Regions from separate parts of the Homo sapiens genome. Here regions 2 and 3 are each linked to region 1. The links are contacts of gene promoters, found by promoter capture Hi-C in human tissues and cell types (Jung and others, 2019). All regions are on one chromosome and are shown on one strand. The core of a region is centred on a gene start or on the middle of the fragment in contact, and the rest is flanking DNA. Distances in the headings are between cores, read along the strand shown. Region 1 holds the start of OC90 (otoconin 90). Region 2 overlaps DNAAF11 (dynein axonemal assembly factor 11). Region 3 overlaps DNAAF11 (dynein axonemal assembly factor 11).

The links. Contacts are between HindIII fragments. The study calls those that stand out against the background at their distance.
Region 2: a fragment that was not itself captured here is called in contact with the fragment with the promoter of OC90 in region 1 in 1 of the 25 tissues and cell types used here (dorsolateral prefrontal cortex).
Region 3: a fragment that was not itself captured here is called in contact with the fragment with the promoter of OC90 in region 1 in 2 of the 25 tissues and cell types used here (dorsolateral prefrontal cortex and thymus).

The regions. Positions count from the first base shown.
Region 1 is chr8:132,057,689-132,060,879 of GRCh38, forward strand. OC90 (otoconin 90) reads right to left here and starts at 1,694. Exons shown (of 14, transcript NM_001080399.3): 1 at 1,653-1,694. RefSeq lists enhancers at 187-764, 765-1,341. The HindIII fragment of the contact is 9,699 bases long and covers 1-3,191 here.
Region 2 is chr8:132,662,579-132,665,769 of GRCh38, forward strand. The region is part of intron 1 of DNAAF11 (dynein axonemal assembly factor 11); the gene reads right to left. Among named protein-coding and RNA genes, the nearest start is that of DNAAF11, 11 kb to the right of the region's middle. The HindIII fragment of the contact is 6,882 bases long and covers 1-3,191 here.
Region 3 is chr8:132,615,371-132,618,561 of GRCh38, forward strand. The region is part of intron 7 of DNAAF11 (dynein axonemal assembly factor 11); the gene reads right to left. Among named protein-coding and RNA genes, the nearest start is that of HPYR1, 55 kb to the left of the region's middle. The HindIII fragment of the contact is 4,801 bases long and covers 1-3,191 here.

The sequences.
Region 1 (3,191 bases), core at 444-2,943:
TCTTCATGACCTTATTCCTTTAAACACAACATTTCATGGATTAGGTCATTCTTTGTGTCAGGTGTTCCACTGAGCATGCCCCACTTGCTGTCTGGTGACAACCCTCCAAGACTTTGGCTATCAAGACGTCTCACTTTCTAGACCAGGAAACTGGGCTCAGAGGGTGAGTCACTTGCCAGGGTGGCCCTTGCCCAGAAGGGGGCGCTCTGGCAATGACCAGACCCAGGTGGGCCAGTCTGACTTGTTCTGGCTCCAATACCCTAAACTGCTAGGCCGGTCCTTTGAGACAAACTAAGCATTCCAGTGATGACTCACTGCGTAACTGTCACAATTATCGGTAGTACTTGCTTGGGAAGACCCTTAGGGTGGCCAGCTTCTTGCTAGGGTGTGGTGAAACACAGCAGGTGACAGCTTCCTTGCTGCGCACAAAGAAGGAAAGTCAGTGCCAGCTAGAAGGTGCCAGTTAGAAGCACGTGGTCAGCCCTGGGCAACAGTGAGGATGACCCGAATCTGGGGTACGTGCACATTAGGGTACGTGGGTGGGATGGTGTGGGGCTGCTTCTGAAATCCAGTATCCTCCTGTTGGCCAAGTCAGGCGCCCTTGGCTGTGGGGCTGTGTCTACCTGGAGGAAAGACCTCCTTCTCCTAATTTGCCCAAGGAAGTCTCTGGGGCTGTCGTGGCCTCATGGGTCAGTGCTGTCCTTGTGGGCCTGAGAAGGCTCCCGAAGCCTCGCCTTGGTCTGCATGCCAGGTTTGGAGTCCCGGCTCCCCTAGCTGTCTCCCAATGGCCGGTCTCATGGCTGCATAGCCAGTGTCTGAGCCCAAGGCCTTGCTGGTCGGACAGACCTGGGCTGGGGTCAGGGAGTTCAGGCTCTGCCTTTTGCTTGTCGAGTGCCCTGAGCCAGGCACTGAAGATGCCTGGAACTCATTTTCCTGGGCAGCGAAATGCATATAATGGTGTTTTTTCATCAGGGAATCATGAGGGTTAAATCTGATGAGTCTTATAAAGGTAGAACACCATCTCCGGCACTTGCTCAGTGCTCAGTGAGGACTGCCCATAATTAATGCTGATTGTGTTTCCACACCAGGTGCCGTGGGCGGGGTCATTGCCCAGGGCTATGTAGGATCCTCACTAATGTGAAGTGGTGGATTTTTCCCCCGGGTAAATTTGCCAGGTGCTCTCTGTCTGGCATTGCATCTTTTCACAGATCGACTCAGAGCAATTTGGGTTTTCAGCTATATCCTGGAGCAACATCCAGGTCTCAGACAGCCCTGAGAGCATCCCCTACCACCTTATCCTCCATTCATTTATCTCCTCATTTCCCCTCCATTCTTCTCTCCCTTCCTCCCTCTTTCCCTCTCTCCCTCCCTCCCTTCTACCCTCTCTTTCTCCCTCCTTTTCTTCCTTCATCAATTTCTCCTACTTTTCTTCCCTCCCCTCCTTCCTCCTACCCTTTCTGCCTCTTTCCATCTCCCAACCATTTCCCTCCCTCCCTCACTCTTTTCCTCCATCCCTCCCTCTCCCCCTCCTTCTCTTTCTCCCTCCCTTCTTCTCTTCTCCCATTCATTTCCCTCCTTTACTTGCTGTCTTCCTCCCTCCCTCCCTCCCCTGCTCTCTGTCTCCCCAACCATCAGGAATAACAGATGCCTACCGTGAAGGCTCCACTGGAGTGCAGCTGGATGAATGATGCTAGGGTTTGAACAGGTGCAGACTGAGTCCTTTATACCCCAAGGAAAGACCCTTAGCCATGTGATGCCTCTCCCCACTCCTCACATCAAGAAGGAAGCCTTTCATGAATGTTGGCAGGTGGGCTGCCTCTGAAGGGAGGAGGCATCATAATACTATAGCTTGGAACAGGTGAAGGCTCCATATTAAGAAGCCCCATCTTGAGCCTCAGAGGAGACCTCAGGCTCTAATTAGAGAACAATGGGTTCCCTGTTCTACCCCACCTCACCTCAAAGGCTAGGAGGCCCATGGATTATGTCTCAGGGTCATCATGGGAACTCTCGGGGGATGAAAGACTGATGAAAGTCATGTGGGCTCTCCTGCAAGATAAAGGGCTGGCTTTGTCTGGTCTAGTTCATTCTTTAGCAAGAGGATTTCTAGCGTGATTCTTCTTATATGTTCTTGGCCTCAGATCTCGGAATTTGATGCCTCTTTCCTTTAGGGCTTTTCTGCCCAAGCTGTGGGGTAGGGTGAGGTGGGGCTTTATAATCAGACACCCAAGGTTCCTCTGCCAGCCCTGCTACTGAGTAGCAGTGTGACCTTGAGTTTGTCACTGCTCAGCTTTAGCTTCCACATCTGTTAAATGGGCTTAATCCTACTAAGATTTCGAGGCTGAAGAAAGCCATATATAGTGTGTGGTATGGGGGCTCATTAAGTCCTAGTTCTTTTTGTCACTTCCTCATATCGCCTTGTGAAGGGTTTTCTTTCCTGATTTTGAAAGGAGAACTGGCATTTATTGAGTACGTGTAATGTACCACAAGTGTTTTATAGGATTTTGCCCTCATCATCCCTGCAGCAGCCCTTCCATTACTGCTTTCATAATCCTAGGAGCAAGGATTAATTAGCTCCACTTTACAGATGAGAAAAAATGGTGTCGTTGAGGTTGAGGCATTGTAGAAGCTCACGTGTAATGGAAGCATTCTGGAATGCAGGTTAGCCTGGCTGTGAACCCTCTGAGTTGCTCACTCTATGGCCACCTCCTGAAGAAGCAGGACTCCTCAAACGATTAAATCAGGGCACAATTGAGCCTCTATGGAAGAACCCATTGAAGGGCTTCTTCAAATAAGTAATTACTCTCATTCATTGAGGCTTGTGTTTGTAGATCATTAACTATTGTTCAGCATCTCATGTGATTTGAGGAATGAAGATGCATTGTCTGTAATATTTTCTCATTAGCACCAAAGACCCACCATCTCTAAAATGACTAAGCCCGTGGGCATCTATGGCTCAGTGCAGCAAAATCCATCTTTTCAGCATCTCAAGAGCATAGCTGAGATTGTTATTATGCTCAAGAGCATAACTGAGATTGTTATTATGCCTGAGCAATACAAAGGCATAACAATCTACATAGGTATCTTGTTCGAGACATTTCATGGGGTTTTGAGAAGGATCATTTTTTCCCATAGCTTACAACAGAGTATCTTAATCTTAGCACTGTTGACATTTGGGCCAAATTATTCTTTTT
Region 2 (3,191 bases), core at 389-2,888, 600 kb after region 1:
AATTCTTTGCATGTATTAATATATGACTATCTGGAGTTATTACTGCCATTTGTCAGATGAGGAAGTAAAGCACAGAGAGTTTAAATAACTTACCTGGGTCTTGGTGATAAGTGCTAGAGCCAGGTTTTAAATTCATGGTTTAGTGCCAGACCACCTGCTCTTAACCACTATGCTCCACTGTCTCAAGCATAAGCAAATAACAGCCTCTAGAAATTCCAGGTTTCCTGAAGGTGCAGACTCCTCTAGCTGAGACAGAGTTCTTCACAGCAACTTCTGCTACCACACCTCTATGTCACATCCTTAAAAGTGGAATTTGCCTTTTTATTAAATGTAAAAACATGTACGAACTTATCATTCATGTGGAGTTAGCTAAACTCTCTGCTACTTCTAGTGGTAGGAGATACGGGTGCTTGCAATGACAGTTCTTTATAAGAAGGACCAGAGCAATGTAGAGGTTGAGAGATTAAAATACCATACATGGGGAAAGTCCTTGCTGCTCTAAGCTTTGGCTCAACTAACAGGCAGAGATGGTCACAAACCAGATCCTGGTAAGGGACAGCCCAAAGCGCCCAGGAAGGAGGCTAACAGTACACCACCACCAGCCTGGCTCGCTGGGAACCCTGCTGCCAGCACCATTCAGCTGTCCCTGGAATTCCAATAATGGTTTGTGAACCAGCTTAAATAGGGTGCTATAATCAAGGAAAAGAGAAAAACCAAACCTGTAAGAGAAGAGCATTAAAACTACTCTCTATCCTCCTAACCAAAGTTGGTTCTAACAGCTTAAATCAACTGATAATGAATAAATGGGTACAGCCAGAGGATAGAGCAATGCTCCTGTGTAAAGTAAATGTATGATCTAGATCTGTAATTTACCTATAAGAATTCTCTTAGCAAGGATGCAACATGGGTCAAGGGGTTGAGATTGCACAACCTTGTTATCTGTACATTTAACAAAATGTGGAAATTACTGACCACTAGTAATAAGACCCTCAATGACTAACGGTATATCTGTAACTTAAACTACTCAAATCCATAGAGCAAGGGGGTGGATTGTTGGAGGCCTTGCTACTATTAGAACTGGAGTCCATGGGGCCAGGAGGACGTGCCCATCCAGAGCCCAAGTCTTCCTCTCTAGACCATGGCCCATGGAAGGAACAATGGGATTCTCTGTTCAAGGGGCTCCAAGCCTTACTCTAAACCTTGCAATGGCAGCTTCTCCAGGTTCGTTCCTGAAGACAGACCATGACATCAGGTACATATCCCAACGCCTAAGGGATGTCCAAGGGTCAGCTGTTTGTCAGGGAGGTGGATGGCATGGATGTATAGGCTGGAGTGTCCATGCTCATACATGGGTGTTAGGGGCCAGGACAGAGTCAGAGATGGGAAGAAAAGGGAAGAGTGGGCCAGAGGGCAAGATTTCCCCAATCCACCATGCTCTGTCATAGAACTCCAGCATAGGAAATGCAGCCCTCAGGTTGTTAGGAAAGTATACTTGTCAAGGTAAGAAGACATATTTTATTTAGCAGTTTGGTTTATAACTTGATACATAGGCCTTTACTTATACTCTTGCCCCAGATTCTAGTTGAAGGCTTAGTTTTGTATCCATATTGAAGATATAATTTGAACTCCAAAGGAGATGTCATCCATGGTTAAGTCGAATGTGTTCAGGGGACTTCTGATAGAATCTTAAGCATCACTTGGTCTCTGGCCTCATACTGCCATGTGGGACTTTCTGACTCTCAGGGCTGCTCAAGGTATCACAGGCGCCTCTAGTCTACACTGTGAAAGGCTTTTCTAAATTGCCCACTCTTAAAGATTTCCAGGGTTGACAAAGTTTCTACTGGTACCAAATATCCTTGTAGTATTCTCTTGCTATACCTCTGAACATTTAAGAAACTCTTTCTTCCTTTGAGACACGGTCTCACTCTGTCACCCAGGCTGGAGTGCAGTGGCACGATTACAGTTTGCTGCAGCCCAGGATCAAGGGATCCTCCTACCTCAGCCTTCTGAGTAGCTGGAACTACAGGCATGCGCCACCACACCCAGCTAATTTTTTTTTTTTTTTTTGTAAAGACAGGGTTTCACCATCGTGTCCACATTGGTCTCAGACTCCTGGACTCAAGCGATCCACCCACCTTGGCTTCCCAAAGTACTGGGATTACAGGTGTGAGCCACTGCGACCAACCAAGAAACTCTCTTCATCAAGGTATTACGTGTGTAAAACCAATCACTTCATGCAACTGTCAAATCTTCTCTTTCGAAGGCATGTAAGTATTAGGAAAGAATTATATTGATTCATATCTTCTAACCATGAGAATTAAGATGAGAAAAATCCCTATTAATTTAAAGAGGTGGAGTTTAGGGAGCCTCCCTTAGCATGAATAACTAAATTACACACACACACAAAGGAAAGAAGGGACACAACAGAGAAGTTTGCCTGGACAGCAATGATTATATACAATTAGGATACATTAAAAGAAAATAAATAATTGCAGAGGAGGACAGAACTGTGAAGATGTGGAAATTTCCCAGCAGATCTTTTCTAAACTCTCCTATGACAAGCAAACTGCCGTGTGGCTTACCATTTTATAGCGCTGAGGAAATTGTTGTTACACAGTGCTGCTTCACCTGTAATGGCAAACATCAGAACAAAAACCAGAGCCCCCGAGAAGAAATGTGTAAAGATATCTTCATGGTGCATGGAGATTATAGTGTTTCATGCTTTTGAACAGGAAAGCATTTTCGGTTTTATATACTGTCTAATTTAGAGCAAACATTCTTTAAGTCCAAGGAGCATTATTCGCCTTTAGAAATTTCTACTCCAAATAATATAGCACTGCAATTACGTGAGATCATTCTAGAGATTTAAAAATGCTTTGGGAAGACACAAAAGTGCCCAGCAAACTTTAAAAAAAAAAGCTCCACATCACTAGTCATCAGAGAAATGCAAATTAAAACTACAATGAGATACCATCTCATACCAGTCAGAATGGCTATTATTATGAAAGTCATAAAATAATAGACGTTGGCAAGGATGCAGAGAAAAGGGAACACTTATACTCTGTTGGTGGGAATGCAAATTAGTTCAACCCCTATGGAAAACAGAATAGAGATTTCTCAAAGAATTAAAAATAGAATGAACAATCAACCTAGCAATCTCACTACTGGGTATCTACCCAAAGGAAAATAAA
Region 3 (3,191 bases), core at 276-2,775, 560 kb after region 1:
GACATCTGGTGGCTAAAGTTTTCTTTTCCATCTCATATGAGTTTGCCAGAAGCAAACTAAAACATTGGAATTATTTATGGAGAACTAAAGGTTGCTTTTGCCTCCCCTTTATCCTGCATTCTATTCCTTAAGTTTTAGAGTCCTGTCTTCCTTCTTTTTTCTTGCTATCTTTTTTCTTCTCCTTTCATCGCTGACCTTTCCATTGCCCTGAAAAAGGCTGAGACACTGCTCATTATCTATTACCTCTGTTTTATAGATGAAGAAACAGAGGTTCAAAGAGGTTGGCATAGCTGAATTATAATAAATGCCTTTACACTTTCTCTGCACGAGCCTGGCTAGGCAGGATTTCAAAGCTCCACCATCTTTCAACTGTACCCCGAGGTTGAGTCCTAGGTCTAGCTTCCACACTGAACAACATACTATCAGAATTGCCTGGTCAATTTTCTTTTGAACATTTCAGTTACTGTATTACTCTATAAAACATACAACTCAACAATATTAAAGAACATAAGCTAAACTGTTTAGGAAAATGTGAAGTTAGCGATAGATTTGGCTGTTCGCCCCATTTCTGCTTGTGGCAGGCACTGTCTCATTGCTTTCAATAGTCAGGCCTGTGGGACTTCTTCAGTGTCTCAAATGACCCATGCATTTGTAGAACCTCATCTCAGGAGCCTTTTTATATGCTCCTGCTCTGCCTCGATTGCTTATTACTTGTAAAGTAATTTCAGAGAATTTTCCTATGGCAGAGATTGCTATTTAGTTGCTATCTGCTTCCCCTTTATTCCTAGTGACAGGAACCATGGTTTTAACTAGGGGCATGGCTATGTACAATAAAGGTTGCATTCTCTGGCCTCCCTTGCAGGTGGGTGAGGTCATGTGAGGGACAGTCGTTGTATGGCACTTTCTAAGAATGTCCCTTAAGAAAAGGAGCGTGTATCCTTTCTTCCCTTTTTTCTTCTTTATTTAGCTGAGTAGAACAGAATGTAGGAGGCCAACAGATAAACCATGGAGACTGCTTAATAAGCAATTGCAACTGTCCAAGCAAGAGTTAGTGTCCACTAGTGGTGGTGGTGGGGTCAGTGAGATGTGGCTGGATTCTGATAATATCGAAGGAAGAGTTCATAGGACGCACTGATAAAATGAGGGAGAGAAGAATTAAGGGAGAATCCAAGGTTTCTGGTCTTAGCCAAGGGGTGAATGTGTGTTACTGAGATGGAGAACACAGGGACACAAGCACACGATGCTGGAGAGTGTTAGTGAGGCTGGAAATCAGGGGTTCTCTTTTAGTCGTCATAAGTGTGCAATGACTCTCTTATATCCACCCAGTGATGTCAAACAGCTAATTGTTAGAAACAAATTTTCAGTGCCACAAAGTGAAACCAGCACTCAGGCAAAAGTTTTCTCAGCAAGGCAATATACTTCTATAGAAGGGCACTTCCTGCATGCAAGGCAGAGGCAAGGGAGAGTGAGCAAAACAAAGGAGAGCAGGAGTTTTTTATCCCTAACACAGACCCTATTCCTATGTCCTTCCACTGCAGGCTGGGGTTGGACCGCTCAATCTAGGCTAATTCTGATTGGCTACTGTTGACATCATCAAAGGAGGCAACAGTGGGCATTTCACAGGAAGGAAAGGTACGGTATATCTTGGGGTGTTTGGGCACAGTAGAGATAGGGAGGGCTGACAGATGAATGGGTACAATTATCTTTTAGAATAGAACAAAGAACCAGGAACCGAAACCCTCTGAAGAGGAACTATATATTCTTAACAACATAACTGAATAGACAAGTCTTGAGCTCAGAGAAGAGGTTGGATCGAGTTGGGAGAAATGTAAAGGGAGTGTTTACAGCCATGGGATTTGGTGAGAGCCATGAAGAGCGAATGTGAAAAGGGAAGACAGCTGAGGAGTTTGTTATAGGGCACCCAAAAAACAAAATCAAAAGGATCTGTCAAAGCTTAGGAAGATGAGCAGTCAGTAAGATAGAAGAAAAATCAGAAGTAAAGGGAAGAAATTGCTTTAAGAAGGATGGTACTGAAGCAATTGTGAATGGGAGTTCACTCATGATTTGGCTCTCTGTCTGTTGTTGGTGTATAAGAATGCTTGTGATTTTTGTACATTGATTTTGTATCCTGAGACTTTGCTGAAGTTGCTTATCAGCTTAAGGAGATTTTAGGCTGAGACAATGGGGTTTTCTAGATATACAATCATGTTGTCTGCAAATTTTCCTAATTGAATACCCTTTATTTCCTTCTCTTGCCTAGTTGCCCTGGCCAGAACTTCCAACACTATGTTGAATAGGAGTGGTGAGAGAGGGCATCCCTGTCTTTTTGCTTCAAAGAGAATAAAATACCTAGGAATCCAACTTACAAGGGATGTGAAGGACCTCTTCAAGGAGAACTACAAACCACTGCTCAAGGAAATAAAAGAGGATACAAACAAATGGAAGAACATTCCATGCTCATGGGTAGGAAGAATCAATATTGTGAAAATGGCCATACTGCCCAAGGTAATTTACAGATTCAATGCCATCCCCATCAAGCTACCAATGACTTTCTTCACAGAATTGGAAAAAACTACTTTAAAGTTCATATGGAACCAAAAAAGAGCCCACATCGCCAAGTCAATCCTAAGCCAAAAGAACAAAGCTGGAGGCATCACACTACCTGACTTCAAACTACACTACAAGGCTACAGTAACCAAAACAGCATGGTACTGGTACCAAAACAGAGATATAGATCAATGGAACAGAACAGAGCCCTCAGAAACAATGCCGCATATCTACAACTATCTGATCTTTGACAAACCTGAGAAAAACAAGAAATGGGGAAAGGATTCCCTATTTAATAAATGGTGCTGGGAAAACTGGCTAGCCATATGTAGAAAGCTGAAACTGGATCCCTTCCTTACACCTTATACAAAAATCAATTCAAGATGGATTAAAGACTTAAATGTTAGACCTAAAACCATAAAAACCCTAGAAGAAAACCTAGGCATTACCATTCAGGACATAGGCATGGGCAAGGACTTCATGTCTAAAACACCAAAAGCAATGGCAACAAAAGCCAAAATTGACAAATGGGATCTAATTAAACTAAAGAGCTTCTGCACAGCAAAAGAAACTACCATCAGAGTGAACAGGCAACCTACAAAATGGGAGAAAATTTTCGCAACCTACTCATCTGACAAAGGGCT